Regions from separate parts of the Homo sapiens genome. Here region 1 is linked to region 2. Evidence: promoter capture Hi-C in 16 types of primary human blood cells and fetal thymus (Javierre and others, 2016). All regions are on one chromosome and are shown on one strand. Each heading gives the region's core, a stretch centred on a gene start or on the middle of the fragment in contact. The rest is flanking DNA. Distances are from core to core; before and after follow the strand shown. Region 1 has its middle 8.2 kb from the start of PCDHB1-AS1. Region 2 holds the start of SLC25A2 (solute carrier family 25 member 2).

Region 1 (3,274 bases), core at 489-2,988, 220 kb after region 2:
TGAATACTGCTCTGTCTACATGTTCTGCCATCTATATGGTCTCTACAAGATGCTCTCCTTGATTTTTTGCAGCATTCCTAGATCCAGTAATACACACTAGTGAATGGCTATATCTGTGAGTCCAAGGCACCTTGTAAAAATGTAACTCATTTTTCCAAGTTACCTTTCTCAAGGCAAATGAGTAACTCAAATGAGTTACATTTTTCCAAGGTGCTTTGAGACTCACAGATGGATCCAATTTCTATTTAGTACCCACTCCTGAGTCTTTTGATTTGAAAATGCAGTTTTTTAAATCTATAGAAACATGAATTACCCTCTCGCTCCCCATACCTCTCAAGTTCCCCATCCTAAGGCCCAAAATCTCTGCAAAATTAGCAATGAAGGAACCACTCTCCAGCACCTCTGGAACAGAATTCTGCAGTTCAGTATCCTGAATGGTACATGCTTAGTAAAACAGAATCACACTTTGTTTTAGACTGGGCTTTAAGTATTACATTATTCCTTCTTCTAACACCTTCCAGCAAATATGGTCCTACACAAACTCTGATCACCCTAATGTTTCTATTACTTATGCCACCAGAATCTTAGACATCCAATACAACTTTCACAGACAGGGTAATATAATATGAAACATACAGCACTGTATTTGCAATCTGCTTTAACCACCATTTGAGCCTGCAGTGCCATTATAGGACCGCCCCCCACCCCCCGTCAGTGCATTAAACTCTCTAGAAAGAAAAAAAGTATTTGAGAAAGGCAAATGAAAACACCAAACACTTTGTATTTATGTAATTATTATCCAGTGTATTGAATAATGTCTGTTTTCATTTTATCAGCAACTATCATAAATATATTAAATATCAACAAATAGGTCTTATTTGAGGCATATTCTGTTGTATCTTCTTTAATTTTCCTAAGCCATACAGGAGAGTATTAAACACTGACATAAAGAAAAAAAAGATAAGATTGTTTTGTCGGTCTGTTTTACATGACATTTAATGTACTGGATATGCTATGATATTAATTGCCAAAGAATTAATCATTTTTGATGTTTAATAAGGAAACAGTAAAAATTAACAAACACAAATTTAACATTGACATAAATAAGCTACACAGCAACTCAGTTGATTTACGTCTTAAATAACGAAAAAGACATTTATTTCTACAGTTTTTTTTCTTGTAGTTGTATATCTCCATTTGATTTCGTGGTCATCAATATCACCAAAATCATCAAATGACTATTTCAAATAAAAAGTTAAAACCATATATTAATAATAGTAATCAAGTAAATAGTTACTTAAACTAAGTAAATGGAGACCAGTCCTGCTGAAAAGTAGACTATCACAACTTGTCAGCCATCATTTACGAAATATCAAGAAAAGCAAAAGATGACTTTAAAATAAATAGCTTGACCTTCTTTGAGAAGTTACGAAGACTATCATTTTATGGATTGAAGTGGGATGAATTTCCTTGTCAAGCTTCAGAATATCTGCTAGGACAGTCTACTCAAAGTTTTAGGGGTAATTTACCTTTGAGAAAGATCAAAGGAAACTAGGCATGAGCAGAAAAAAATGCGTTCCTTTTCTGTGCTTAACAATAAAGAGGAAATACACTACTAGATTCTAAATAGACCTTTGTGAAATAGATAAAAAGATAAAAATAGCTAAGCCATCAATATCTGTTAACTGTTAATGAACAATTAGCTATGCTTCAGAAAAAAAACACGATGGAAATTAGAGCCATAAAATAACCAAAACATTCAGAACGGTGCTGTTATTCCTCTACCTTTTATCCAGAATCCAAAAGGAAGAACGCCAAGGATGATAGCTGTCTCTACCTACTGTCTTGTTTTGAGCTTCCTGGAACCTAATTTCATTGGAAATACAGTGATGTTGCGTGTAGCTCTCTTTTCTGGTTTGCATTATTAGGTTGTCAGATTATGGAATATTTTAAATATCCAATGAAAAGAAAACTCTGGTAGGAAGGATCAAAGCTTTTTCTTGTTTTGTTTTGTTTTTGTTGTTGTTGTTGTTTTATCTCAGGGTGCTGAGATTATGGTTCTTAAACAGATGAAGTCTTCCCAGAAGTGCTCCAGGATGAGGCAGATAAGTGTCAACATGACCAATTCTATGTGATTGTCATCCAATGGCATGGTCTTCCACCGTCCTTCACATGAAGAAACAATTTCTGAAACTATTTCTGCTTGTAATTGCCTGAGTATTTGCCACGTGGCACTGAAATTTCCTGGTAATTCTCTTGCAGTGGATGCTTATGATGCATGGGGTATCAGTGGTATTTAAAATGTTCTGCTAGCATTTAAAATGCTCTCCAGAGGTTGCAGAATTCAGTGAGCCTGGAGAATTCTGAGAGCCGATTCATAATTATTTACTCAGACTAAATCTTCAGCCGGTTGCTGTGAGACCTGCATCTCAAAGATTGTCATTGATTGTCATGACTTGGACTTAGGAGGTCTCAGATATCTACCATTCTTCTCTGGGAGAGTTAAACTTACCTTGGGCTGTGGTTCATCCAGCGATTTTTTTCACGCGTATGGACAAATTACTTACCCCAATATTGCACAGCACATTATTGTGAACATGGAAATTGAAAATGAGTGTGTAGTTTCCAATGATGGAAAATTTACCCAAACCTCATACATGTTCCTGGTGCACATTCTGGAACATTCAGAAGAATTTTTCAAAGGAGGAAACGGTTACACCTCAGACACAGATTTTTCTCAAAAGACAAATTTTTTTTTTTTTTAAATACAGGTAATTCTTGGAAATGCAGGGCTCCTATAGGTCCGATTTTCTACTTGAGAGCAAGGACTCTTCTGTGGGTCGATCTGAAATATTATTTGGTCTCTTTGGAAACTATCCTGCTCCAGTCTGTCCTCCCGCCGCTCCCCTTTCCGCCGCCAGCGCCAATCTCCAGAAACCCTGACCATAAAAAAGCAGTTTTCCTTTTCCTGGGCCGCCTGCGCTACACCCGGGAAGAAAATGAAAACCCACCACCTGCGTTTTCTGCCAGATTTTTTTCTCGCACAATTTCCTGTATATCCTCTGAGTGCATTGCCTTTAGTAAATGAAGTCTTCGGAAATCCTGTAAGACTTCCAAACATTTGTGTAGTCCCCATTCGTTTGAAGAAAGCTCTAAAATCTGAGCTCGCTGCGGACGTTTTCCAACTCGTATCTGTTCCCAGCACCTTTCAGATTTTGTCTTTTCTAAGATGGAGTCTGCAGGCAAATGCAGGGCTCCTCCTCCTCCTACTTTT
Region 2 (3,286 bases), core at 411-2,910:
TGGCCTGGGCGGCTTGACTAAGGATACTTACAGTTTTTTATTGAATGTAAGCTAAACAAGGGGTGGATTATTCATGAGGTTTCTGGGAAAGGGGTCCAAAGTTACCGGAACTGAGGATTCCTCCCCCTTTTTAGACCACATAGGGTCACTTCTTATTGTTGCCATGGCATCTGTAAGTGGACACGGCGCTGGTGGGCGTGTCTTTTAGCATGCTAATGCATTATAATTGGCGTATAATGAGCAGTAAGGACGACCAGAGGTCACTTATTATGCCATCTTGATTCTGGTGGGATTTGGCTGGCTTCTTTACTGAAACCTGTTTTATCAGCAAGGTCTTTGTGACCCGTATCTTGTGCCGGCCTCCTATCTCATCCTGTGACTTAGAATGCCTGTCTTCCTGGGAATGCAGTCCAGTAGGTCTCGGCCTTATTTTACTCAGTCCCTAGTCAAGATGGAGTTGCTGTGGTTCCAGCGCCTCTGACAGTTTGTCTTCTCTACTTTATTTTTTGTAGGGGGTAAGGGGTGTCTCATTTTGCTGCCCAAGCTAGCCTTGAACTCCTAGGCTCAAATGAGCCTCCCTCCGCAGCCTCTCCAAGTGTTGGGATTACAGGCATGAGCCACCACACCTGGCCTGTCTTATCTACTTTAAAGCAGTTTTCTTGTAGATTGACCCTCTGAATTCAGGGTCTATTCAAGTGAGGGCATCTTCTTTTCGGGTTGTTTGTTTTTGTTTTTTGCATGGTAAGAAGCGTGGGATAGGCCGGGTGTGGTGGTTCATGCTTGTAAGCCCCAACACTTTGGGAGGCCAGTGGGTGGATTGCTTGAGTTCAGGAGTTCGAGACTAGCCTGGGCAACATGGCGAAACCCCGTCTGTACAATACAAAATTTAGCCAGATGTGGTGGCTTGCGCCTGTAGTCCCTCTAGTCTCAGCTACTCAGGAGGCTGAGGTGAGAGGATCGCCTGAGGCCAGGAGATTGGGGCTGCAGTGAGCCAGGATCGCGCCACTGAACTCCAGCTTAGGCGGCCGAGTGAGACCCTAAGTCAAAAAAAAAAAAAAGAGAGAAAAGAAAAGAAGCAGGGCTGACTGATTAGGACAGCATTTCTTTTGCCGCCAGCTGAACTGCGGCGTCTAGAGTTCCCGGCCATAATTGCAAGAATTTATCGAAAAGCTTTACATGTTTTCTTGGTTTTGGTTTTGTTTTGAGACAGAGCCTCACCCTTTCGCCCACCCTGGAGTGCAGTGTGCGATCATAGCTCACTGCAGCATCGACCTCCCGGGTTCAAGCGATCCTCGCTTCATTCTCCTGAATTGCTGGGACCACAGGCGCGCGCCATCGCGCCCGGGTATTTTTTCGTTTTTGTAGAAATGGAGTCTTGCCATATTGCCCAGGCTGGTCTCGATCTCCTGGGCTCAAGCGATCCTCCCGCCTCGGCCTCCCAAAGTGCTGGGATACAGGAGTGAGCCACCGCGCCCAGTCGCAGTACACTAAAAGTATTTATTCGGTCCGCGTCCCCCGCCTGCGGGTGCAGGGATGGCGGCTCCAGGCTGGAGGCGGCTGGGGGCCCGGCCAGTGCGCCAGGAGCCGCAGGAACGCTAGTGAGCCGCGCGCTGGGCCGGCAGCTGGGGGTTATTTTAGTGCGCGGGGAGGGGGCGGCCCGCGGCGGAGCGTAGGGTTGAGCGGCTTCCCCCGCACTGGGGTGAGAGCCCAGAACAGGCGGTAGAGCCACCCCACCACCCCCAACTCCATTCCCCGCGCTCGCTGCGGCTGGACGTGAAAAGCCGGTCTCACGCTCTGGGGAGTTAGTCGCCTTCCACTGGGACCCTCAGACGAGTGAGCGAACATGAAGTCCGGTCCTGGCATCCAAGCCGCCATCGACCTCACAGCGGGGGCCGCAGGGGGGACAGCGTGTGTACTGACTGGGCAGCCCTTCGACACAATAAAAGTGAAGATGCAGACGTTCCCTGACCTGTACAAGGGCCTCACCGACTGCTTCCTGAAGACATACGCTCAAGTGGGTCTCCGGGGCTTCTACAAGGGCACCGGCCCGGCACTTATGGCCTACGTCGCCGAAAACTCGGTCCTCTTCATGTGCTACGGGTTCTGCCAGCAGTTTGTCAGGAAAGTGGCTGGAATGGACAAGCAGGCAAAGCTGAGTGATCTCCAGACTGCAGCCGCGGGGTCCTTCGCCTCTGCATTTGCTGCACTGGCTCTCTGCCCCACTGAGCTTGTGAAGTGCCGGCTACAGACCATGTATGAAATGGAGATGTCAGGGAAGATAGCAAAAAGCCATAATACAATTTGGTCTGTCGTGAAGGGTATCCTTAAAAAGGATGGCCCCTTGGGCTTCTACCATGGACTCTCGAGTACTCTACTTCAAGAAGTACCGGGTTATTTCTTTTTCTTTGGTGGCTATGAACTGAGCCGATCGTTTTTTGCGTCAGGGAGATCAAAAGATGAACTAGGCCCTGTCCATTTGATGTTAAGTGGTGGAGTTGCTGGAATTTGCCTGTGGCTTGTCGTGTTCCCAGTGGATTGTATTAAATCCAGAATTCAAGTTCTTTCCATGTATGGGAAACAGGCAGGATTTATTGGTACCCTCTTAAGTGTTGTGAGAAATGAAGGAATAGTAGCCTTATATTCTGGACTGAAAGCTACTATGATTCGAGCAATCCCTGCCAATGGGGCACTGTTTGTGGCCTACGAATACAGCAGGAAGATGATGATGAAACAGTTGGAAGCATACTGAAGTGTCTTGGTGAACCTGGATCCGAGTCCATGAGTTTGAGGACTACAGTTCATCACAGGGTTCAGCAGAGTACAAGACCACTGTCTAATTTTGACTTCATGGGAATTTTGGTTTTATCTTCCCTTCTTCTACCCTAAATCTTAACTTTATGGAAGGGCCTCTATTTTACATCATATAATTTCTGCCCATAATTGTATTGAAATAGGAAAGTTGCTGCTCTTGCACTTGCTGGAATGTACAGGGTGGGCTGGTTGGCCCTATGTACCTAATCTGAAAAACTAAATATCGTTCTGTCAGGGCCTTTGCATAAAGCCATTTGTGTGTACATGCAGTTTGGATGATTCTATGTCGTGAGTGAAACAATTTAGTTCTATATATAATCTCAAATATCAGCCCCCCAAACCCAGAATTGACCATATTTTGTGAAGATAGGTATGAATGATTACTTAGGATCACTCTCTCTTTTTTTCTTTTTTTTTGGAGACAGAGTCTCACTCTGTCGCCCAGGCTGGAGTGCTGTGGCATGATCTTGGCTCA

The links. Contacts are between HindIII fragments. The CHiCAGO score rates a contact against its expected background, and 5 or more counts as called.
Region 1: a fragment that was not itself captured here is called in contact with the fragment with the promoter of SLC25A2 in region 2 in 1 of 17 cell types (M1 macrophages); the score reaches 5.5 in M1 macrophages.

What each region holds. Positions count from the first base shown.
Region 1 is chr5:141,084,607-141,087,880 of GRCh38, reverse strand. It overlaps PCDHB@. Among named protein-coding and RNA genes, the nearest start is that of PCDHB1-AS1, 8.2 kb to the right of the region's middle. The HindIII fragment of the contact is 515 bases long and covers 1,481-1,995 here.
Region 2 is chr5:141,302,423-141,305,708 of GRCh38, reverse strand. SLC25A2 (solute carrier family 25 member 2) reads left to right here and starts at 1,660. Exons shown (of 1, transcript NM_031947.4): 1 at 1,660-3,074. The coding sequence starts at 1,844. The coding sequence ends at 2,749. The HindIII fragment of the contact is 3,271 bases long and covers 1,173-3,286 here.